2 separate regions of the Homo sapiens genome follow, and region 1 is linked to region 2. Evidence: promoter capture Hi-C in human tissues and cell types (Jung and others, 2019). All regions are on one chromosome and are shown on one strand. The core of a region is centred on a gene start or on the middle of the fragment in contact, and the rest is flanking DNA. Distances in the headings are between cores, read along the strand shown. Region 1 has its middle 35 kb from the start of LINC00488. Region 2 holds the start of DPPA4 (developmental pluripotency associated 4).

The links. Contacts are between HindIII fragments. The study calls those that stand out against the background at their distance.
Region 1: a fragment that was not itself captured here is called in contact with the fragment with the promoter of DPPA4 in region 2 in 2 of the 25 tissues and cell types used here (H1 embryonic stem cells and mesenchymal stem cells).

The regions. Positions count from the first base shown.
Region 1 is chr3:109,210,807-109,215,676 of GRCh38, reverse strand. No RefSeq gene overlaps it. Among named protein-coding and RNA genes, the nearest start is that of LINC00488, 35 kb to the right of the region's middle. The HindIII fragment of the contact is 5,873 bases long and covers 1-4,414 here.
Region 2 is chr3:109,334,385-109,339,279 of GRCh38, reverse strand. It overlaps DPPA4 (developmental pluripotency associated 4), which reads left to right and starts at 1,734. Exons shown (of 7, transcript NM_018189.4): 1 at 1,734-1,816. The coding sequence starts at 1,763. RefSeq lists enhancers at 1-410, 1,629-2,236, 2,237-2,845, 2,846-3,454. The HindIII fragment of the contact is 13,883 bases long and covers 1-4,895 here.

The DNA.
Region 1 (4,870 bases), core at 229-2,728, 120 kb after region 2:
AAATGGGTTTATGTTGTTCCATTAATGTCAAGAAGAAGCCAGAGTGTCTACTATCTCTACTATTTTATTAACATAGTCCTGACTATACTTGCCAATGCAATTAGAAAAAAGAAATGAGTTATATATATGTTTGAAAAAAGAAAGTAAAATTGTTTTTGCAAATGTTATACTTGCTTACATGGAATACACAAAAGAATAAACTAAAAAATTATAGCAAACAGTAGGGGAATTCATAACTACTTGAATACAATAATAAAGAGTAATCAACAGCTTTCTTAGGTACAGACAATAACCGATTAGAAGATATAATGAAAAAAATCATCACATTTACAATAGCAACAAAAATTAATTTCTAGAAATAAATGTAACAAGAAGTGTATGAAATCTACACAAATGAATGGAAAAACATACATTTTCTTAAATACAGAGATTCAATATTATAAACATGTCAGTTCTTCCTAATTTAAGTAATAAGCTTAATTCTCTTACTGTACCAATAAATACAGTAAGAGTATTTATTGTTTATCTATGCATTTGTTTTTGGAACTGGAAGTGTTGATTCATACAGAAAATTTTAAAACATCAAGAAAATTCTTGAAAAAGAGGAGTAGCAAGTTAATTACCCACCCAAATGTTAAAATATAGCACTACTGTAATTACATTAATATAATAATAATTACATTAATTTTTGCATGAATTGACAGGCAGATAAATGGAATAAACAAGACAGTCTGTAAGTAGATCCAAATATGTATCAGATGTTAATATATGGCAAGAATGGGATAGAAAGTCAGAGGGTAAGCAATGTAATGGCAATTACTCTTGCACCAAACTAATAATAAATGGTATTGGGACAACTGGATAGCTATCTGGAAAATAAAATTAATTTTGGATCCTTACCTCATTACTTACAACAAAATTCCAGATTTTTCCAAGATGTACAAAGAAAACTTAAAATATAAGTATACTAGGAAAATACTATATATGTATACACATAGGTGTGTGGGTATGTGTGTGTTCGTATGTGTGTGTATTGGGAAGACTTTTCTAAGGTTAATCCAAAACTAAGAAATCATAAAAGAAAAAGTTGATTAATTTGGCCACATATAATTACAATAAAATTGTCATGGCATTAAAATACCTTAAGCAAAGACAAATTAGACATGACAAACCAGGAAAATATATTTGTTTGCACCTCATGACATAGAACAAAGGGTATGTTCCTCAGCATATACAAATAAATATGTAAGAAAAAGACCAATAATCCAATAAAAAATGAACACAGTATAAAATAGTTTGCATTAAAGTAAATACAGATGGGTCTGAACATAAGCAAAGGTATTTACTTTATACATAATAAAAATTAAAAATTAAAACTATACTGAGGTGCCATTTTCCCTTGTCAATTTGGCAAAGAAAAAAGAAATTTGATAGCATACTGTATTGAAAGAGTGTAAGAAAATAGCATCTTATACGCTGCCTTTGGGGATACAATTTGGTGTAAACTCTGTAAGAGGCTATCTAACAATATCTATCATAATTACAAATGCACATACCCATTGATCTTGCAATTCTACTACAGGAGTTTACCTACTTATATACTCAGCACACCTTAAATGACAAACTTAAAAGTATATTCATCATAGCATTGCTTGGAGTAGCAAAAAGATTGAAGGCAGCAGAAATATTAATATTAGAGAACTGGTTAAATAAAAAAATAAAAATAAATAAATTATGTACAGGCATGGCATGAGAAACTATGCAACCTTCATAAAGAATAAAGCTACTCTATATGTATTGATTTGGGGCAATATCCAATATGCAATGTTAAAAGAGTAAAGAATATTGTATATAATACTTTTTTTTTGTTCTACACACACACAATTTCATATGCATAGAATATCTATAAAGTGGTAAAGGTGGTTACTTTAGGGAAGGAAACTAGGAAACTAAAGACAGGAGAGATTAAAAAAACTAAATTTTGAATCTACAAATTTTTATTTTTATTTATCACTGTGATATGTTACATATATACAATTCTCACTACAACACTAAGCATGCCATTCAGTTCAGCTCATATTTTCTTTGTAAAAAGACTTTCTCAATGAAGGAAGCAGTATGTTCATTCACATCTGGCACAGCTCCTTATCCTGTCACAGATTGCTAACAGTTTGCTGACTGGCTGCTTTCAGTAGTGGTAGTGAAGCCATTTCTGAAGCAGGGAATATATGCCTATACTTATGGGACTCTGGTGACTTGACCTGTATTTGTGATGCTGGGGTGAAAAACTAGAGTAATAGGAGTGTGAGAGTAGGAATTGTGGTGGGTGGTGGGCACAGCTGGTAGACTTTGTGGAAAGGTAAAACTTGCTAGCAACTTTTAACCTTTTTACTTAGCTTGGATGAAGAAAGGCATTCTGGATGTCACTTTGTATTCTGCAGAAGTATAAAATCAGAAAGTTAACCAGAGCTTAGAGTTCTCTCTGAGGAAGCAAAATGGCTAAGAAAACACAGCAGTAATTTAATGTTTATAAAGACTGGACTGAAATAACTACAGTATATCAAAAGCAAATAACTGCTGAGGAAATTGGCATATTTTAATTTGGTTCAGACTGTATTTTACATGTTCTGGGTGTACTGTGATGTATGAGTTTGTATGTAGAGCTTAAATGTATAATTAATACGGCTTTGAAGCTAGTTCTATCTACATGATTAAAATTTATCATGGTATTAGCTTTCAGACAGAGACTTTTTCACAAGTTATAGTCAATGCTATAAATTAGATCTTTTCTGATGAGCTCTGAACAAAGGACTATAATTTATCTCAATGGTATTTTGTTACAGGCATTTTAATTGCTGTGGCAGGTGAAAAACACCATTCAATATTTTGACCAAACTTTTTTTAATGAAATTATTTGCTTCCAGTACCGTTGGTTTAAAGAACATTCTGTCTTATTGAAGATGAACTAAAAGTCTTTATTTATACATATGACTCAACCTCACCTTGAATACTAGGCAAATCTACTTAGTGGGGAGTTTATTCCATAAAGAAGACCAGGAATCTTTTAACATTTGTAAAGGGGTTGACAGGTTGGTCCTTGCAAGTGTATATCAAAAAGGAGAAATTCCAGATTTCTTTTTCAGTGGTCTATAAGTGAAGAACTGGGAATTGATTGCTGGCAAATAAATTATGGGTGTGGCACATTTTTTGCTTTCCAATTCTTTTTTTCTGATCACATAAGTAATATATGCTTTAAAAAAGTTATAGAAATGTGCAATTTCAAAAAAAAAACTTTAACAATAATTTCTCTAAGAGATAACTACTATTAACAATTTGGCATACATTCTTCCAGAAATTTTCTACACAAAATACTTTTTTTCCCTCTTAAGACTGTGGGTCTGATGCCAACAATGTCTGAATTTTTCCTCCTCTGCCTGCTGTATTTTATCACATTTGCCCACCCCCCACAGTTTCAATTACTTTGTTGGAATGATATATTATGCAAATGTATCCAAAAGTCCCAGTTCCTGGGCCTACGGACAGATTTCATGCCAATGCATCTGTGCCTAAGAGCGGATTTTAGATTTGTGCCTGTGCCCAAGTAAGGACTGGGTGCCAGCTTGTCAAAGCTTAGCTGAGTACAGACCACCATGCCATGAGTTAGGCTGCTTCTGGTGGTTCCATTTCCTCCAACCCAGACGGAAGTATCTGGTTGAGTACAGTGCTGGAGGGCGGTGTCTTTATTACACTTCCCCACATTCGGTTCAGTGGATTAAGCAAGGTTTCTTACTTCGATTTCACCCTTGTCAAAATGATTACCAAGCTTATTCCATCTTGGGTTGTATGTTTCCCAGCTTCTAATGGATGATTTTTATGGTTTAGTACTTGACCACCAATTCAGTAGACACTAGTGAGAGGCTTTAAAAAATGTCTTAGAAAACAATCTTTATTCAATGTGATAGGTCATTTGGAGTAAATACCCATGTATAGAGGGACTGAAATTAACAGTCTAAATGCTCAGCTGCATTTAGTGTGTGATTGAGTTTTAACACATCAAATAGATTTACTAAAGCCTAATAAAAAATTCCACAGATATTAGAATACTAATTCTGAGAAACCCTGGGTTAGAAAGCATCAGAAGCTGTTAAATACCTTATTGAATTTTGTCAACTTGCTCACTCTTCTTAATATACCATATTCAGAGTAGAAAAACAGTGTGTGCATAGTCAAAGAGGCCAAATCTATCCTTCTAAATTATCTTTCAAAGCCGTCCAATATTTCTTCTTCAGAAAGGATTGAGACAGGAAGTTTAAAAAGCCAGCTTTCGGCTAGGTGTGGTGGCTCATTCCTGTAATCCCAGCACTTTGGGAAGCCAAGGCAGGTGGATCACTTGAGGCCATGAATTCAAGACCAGCCTGGCCAGCATGGTGAAACCTCGTCTCTACTACAAATACAAAAAATTAGCTGGGAGTGGTGGGGCATACCTGTAATGCCAGCTACTGGGGAGGCTGAGGCAGGAGAATTGCCTGAACCCGGGAGGTGGAGGTTGCACTGAGCCAAGATTGTGCCACTGCACTCCAGCCTGGGCGACAGAGCAAGACTCCGTCTCAAAAAAAAAAAAAAAAAAAAAAAGCCAGCTTTTCCTATTTTCATGTTGGAAACATCTCGGGTGTCAAAGACAATGTGAAATTTGGTGTATATCTATATGCATACATACAGAAAACTTACATAGATATACTACCATTTATGAGAGACTTATTTTGCAACAAACACTTTACTAAGTGTTCATGTGGATTATATTGTAAACTATAAGCACCTCTTAAGCTCATCAGTATTCACAAAGTAATGGTGAAGCTCATATAACATCCCC
Region 2 (4,895 bases), core at 485-2,984:
GCTAAAGCCTTACATTTAAAAATGAATCAATCTGGCCTGGATTTGGTGTCTGTGTTTTTATGTTTTATTTTTATTTTATGTTTTATTTTGAGATGGAGTCTCACACTGTCACCCAGGCTGGAGTGCAATGGCACGATCTTGACTCACTGCAACCTCTGCCTCTCCAGCTCAAGCAATTCTCCTGCCTCAACCTCCTTGGTAGCTGGGATTACAGGCACGCACCATGCCCGGCTAATTTTTGCATTTTTAGTAGAGAAGGGGTTCTGCCATTGTTGGCCAGGCTGGTCTCAAAACTCCTGAACTCAAGTGACCTGCCCACCTCAGCCCCCCAAAGTGCTGAGATTACAGGCGTGAGCCACCATGCCCAGCCCAGAACTCCAGTTATTCTGAATGTTACGTTCAATTACACTGACAAAAGAAAGATGATTCAGTTATACACTTTATACACAAACCTTAATTAGAAAGTCCTACTGGTGGTTACCAAAGGCTGTGGTAAAGAATTGTTAAATCAAAGCCCTAATATCTCCCAGATGACCTCAACTCACCTGGTTTCCTCTTTGCCGCCTTGGGGGTTGCCCAGTCCACAACCTGCACTTCCTTCTCTATTCCTGGGCTCCGTTTACTTACTTTTTCTGTCCGTGGATTTCTAGCCTGTGAGCAGATTACTAACACCATTTGGATAAAGACAGTCTCTTATTTATCATTTTAGGACAAGCAATGAGATGTAGGAAAAAAAAACAACAAAGTAAACCAAAGAACAAAAGAGACTTTGGACCCTGACAAGGGAGGGTTTCAGTCGCACAGCCACTGCTTCCTTCACTTCACATCTCTTGACAATCTGACAGGGAGCACTGATCTGAGGAAAGATTTTTCAAATTATTTTAAGGAGAAAAACTTGAACTTCTTTGGGAGTCAGTAGGTTAGGGGTTCACTTACTGTGCTATTGAAAAAGTTACCAATAAAAATTTATACCAACTTTAGTCATATATAAAATGGGGAACAATAATGACTGAATTTAAAACTCACAATTTGAGATATAAAAAAATACTCGGGCGGGGAGTGGTGGCTCACGCCTGTAATCCCAACACTTTGGGAGGACAAGGCTGGAGAATTACTTGAGGGCAGGAGTTCGAGACCAGCCAGGTCAAAATAGCCAGACCCCCCCACTTGCCCTCTACAAAATAAATAACAAATACTCTATAGACTTTAAAAGCTACTATTATTAGTTCGTTGGCAGATGAAAAGATGCTCGGTATTAGTACAGAGAAACCTGGAGTTTTAGTTGGTTGAGTAACTTACTTAGGAAATGGAATGTATTTGGTACGAGAAAATAGCTTTCTTCAAGCCGCCAGTCTGGTCTCTGAAGTCTACTGTTGCCACAAGTTCCATTATTAAATCCCTTCACACATCCTGCTCAAGTCTCTGGCCACTGTTTTTTTGTTTTTTGTTTTTTGTTTTTTTTCCCCGTAGAATCGTTCTGAAGGAGTGCTCAATCTCCCAATGTCTCCGGAACCATACTTTGGATAATTACATTTAAAGTGAACAGAAAAGGGCCAGGAATAGTATTAGTAATTCAACCCAGACAAAAGTCACCCCATGAATAAGAAAGAATGCAATTTTAGCATTTACAAATTGTGGGGGAGGGAACAGAAGGGGAGAAGAAAAGAAGAGGTGAGGTGGAGAGAAAAAGGGTCTTCGGGCGGCAGGAAGTGGGAGGAGACTTTGCAAATAGCAATCTTGGGGCAGGGGCCATTTTGGAAGCATGTTGCGAGGCTCCGCTTCTTCTACAAGTATGGAGAAGGCAAAAGGCAAGGAGGTCAGTACAGTTTTAGTGGATTTGTTTTCTGTCTGTCTTTGTGTTTCTGTCTTCCCTGGGCACTCCTGATTTTTCCTTTAAGGAGAAAAGAATGTGCCTTCGAATTTTCTCCTCTTGACTTTTTTTTTTTTTATTTTAAGAGTAAGGCCCAAGAATATGATTGCAGCCTGGTATATTGGAGTGAGCAGACAAGTAAGAAATGAGGTTTTCTAGGTTTAGTTGAGGAGGTTGAGTGTGTCAAAAGATGGGGAAAAAAAAAAAAGAGGCCGGGCGCGGTGGCTCACGCCTGTAATCCCAGCACTTTGGGCAGCCGAGGCGGGCGGATCACCTGAGGTCGGGAGTTCGAGACCAGCCTGACCAAAATGGAGAAACCCCGTCTCTACTAAAAGTACAAAATTAGCCAGGTGTGGTGGCGCACACCTGTAATCCCAGCTACTCGGGAGGCTGAGGCAGGAGAATCGCTTGAACCCGGGAGTCGGGGGTTGCGGTGAGCCGAGATCGCCCCATTGCACCCCCAGCTTGGGCAACCAGAGCGAAACTCCACCTCAAAAGAAAAAGTTAAAAAATTAGGTTTTCAGGTTTGTGTTTTGGAACAGGGTTTCACTTTTGTCTCCCTGGCTGGAGTGCAGTGGCACCATCACTATTCACTGTAACCGCCCAGGCTCAAACGATCCTCCCACCTCGGCTTACCAAAGTGCTACTGGGACTGCAGGCGCCCGCCGCTGCTCCCGGCCCGGGTTTTCTGTTTTGAAGAGGTGCTTAGTCCTGTCAGAAAGAACTAACTGAATATGGGGGCTAGAGGGAAATGGTAACAGGAGAAAAGGGTGTTAAAGGAAAGATTTTAGGAAGAGGTAATTGAGCTGAGTTTGGAAAAGAATGAAACCCCTTAATTTCCTTTAGACGGACACAGATCCTAAACCGAGGGTGCTGAGAATGAATTCGTCCCCTTTTCCCAGCGTCCTTAGGACCTAGGAGTAATCAGAAGCCAGACATTGGGAACAATGCAGACAGAAACTGAAGGAAGAGAGGATTTAAGACGTTGCACAGGCACTGAACGGCCATATCCGAGCGCTCTCAGGTCCTCTTGACTTGAACTGGGTCATTTTTAACTGTCTCGGTTTTAAGTCTTTTGTGAGGTCCAAAGTGAGTACTTTTTGTAAGGTTTATGCAAATATAAATTTCAAATCAAAATGTAGAACTGCTATAGAGATGTAAAAATGCCATACAAATGTTAATTTGTCCAGTAATCCACCCTGAAAGTGAAGAAAAGGATTTAGATTTAGGAGAAATTTTATTATATTAATTTTTTTTTTTTAATGAGTTTGACTCTGTCGCCCAGAGTGGTGTGCAGTAGCCGATCTCGGCTCACTGCAGCCTCTGCTTCCCGGGTTCAAGCGATTCTCCTGACTCAGCCTCTCGATTAGCTGGGATTGCAGGCACGCACCACCACGCCCAGGTAGTTTTTGTATTTTTGGTAGTGACTGAGTTTCGATATGTTAGCCAGGCTGGTCTCGAACTCCTGACCTCAATCGGTCAGCCCACCTCGGCCTCCCAAAGTGCCGGGATTACAGGCGTGAGCCACGGAGCCTAGCCTTTATATTTAAATTTTAATTTATATCTAATGTACCCCTAATCTGTGTCTTTATGTTACCTCTGATTCTCAGCTTCTGTGTCTGAGAAGTAATTGTTGCCAGATTGCTATGAGAATTAAATGAATGAAAAAAGGAAGGCCAAGGCCAGGCACAGTGGCACACGCCTGTAATCCCAGCACTTTGGGAGGCTGAGGTGGGCGGATCACTTGAGGCCAGGAGTTTGAGACCAGCCTGGCCAACATGGTGAAACCCCCATCTCTACTAAAAATAGAAAAATTCAGCCGGGTGTGGTGGCAGGCGCCTGTAATTCCAGCTAGTGGGGAGGCTGAGGCAGAGAATTGCTTAAACCGGGGAGATGGAAGTTGCAGTGAGCCGAGATTGGACCACTGCACTACAGCCGGGGTGACAGAGCGAGACTCCTCTCAGAGAAAAAGAAAATAGGGAACCCTTGGGCGCAGTGGCTCGCGCCTTTAATCCCAACTCTTTGGGGAGCCAAGGCGGGAAGATTGCTTGAGGCTAGAAGATTGAGATCAGTGGGGGGAGACATAGGGAGACCTCACCTCTACAAAAAATTATCCTGTAGTCCCACCTGCTCAGGAGGCTGAGGCAAAAGATCACTTGAACCCGGGAGGTAGAGCTTGGAGTGAGCTATGGTCCTGTCACTGCACTCCAGCCTGTGTGACAGGGCAAGACCTTTTCTTTAATAAATAAATATTTTTTAAAAAAATGAAAGTGAGGAGCATATCAAAGCCAATGCCTAGTATGAGACAGAGGCTCAATATATGTTACTGTCTCTGGATTAAACAACTTTTCCCCACTCCCACTTTGCTTCCTTTAATTCAATGAACCAATATTTATTGAGTGCCTATGATGAAAAAGAAATCACACAAACCAATGTAATTGCAATTAACAAGTGGTAGAAATGAGGTAGTATTTAGTAGATTGGTCTGGAAGGACCAGGTTAAATAGCACTTGAGGTGAGACTTTTAAAAGAAGAGTAAGATTTTTAAGGTGTAAGATTTTAAAGTGTAAATAGAAGTAGGGTGGAGGTTGGGGCTGAGGAATGTAACAACTTTGGAAAGGAAAGGAATTATGTGGCTGGAGCTTGGTCAGGGAGAGCAGTGTGAAATAGGAGATAAGAGGCTGGTAGGTAATGTTAAAGACAATTACTTTTATGTTAAGAGCAATAAACCACTGAAACTTTTCATAGTGTCACTCTGCCAACAGTGTTAGAAAATTATTTGGAAGGCGTCAAGAATGAAGGACTGGGGGAAAAAATTCTGCCAGGTGAGAGATGATGGAATATAGTAAGTGAGTTAAGGGCCTCTTTTTTTTTTTTGAGACAGTCTCATTCTGTCACCCAGGCTGGAGTGCAGTGGTGCAGCCTCTACCTACCTCCCTGGCTCAAGCAATCCTCCTATCTCAGTCTCGAGTAGCTGGACTACACGCACACACCACCATGCTCAGCTAATTTTGTTTCCTTATGT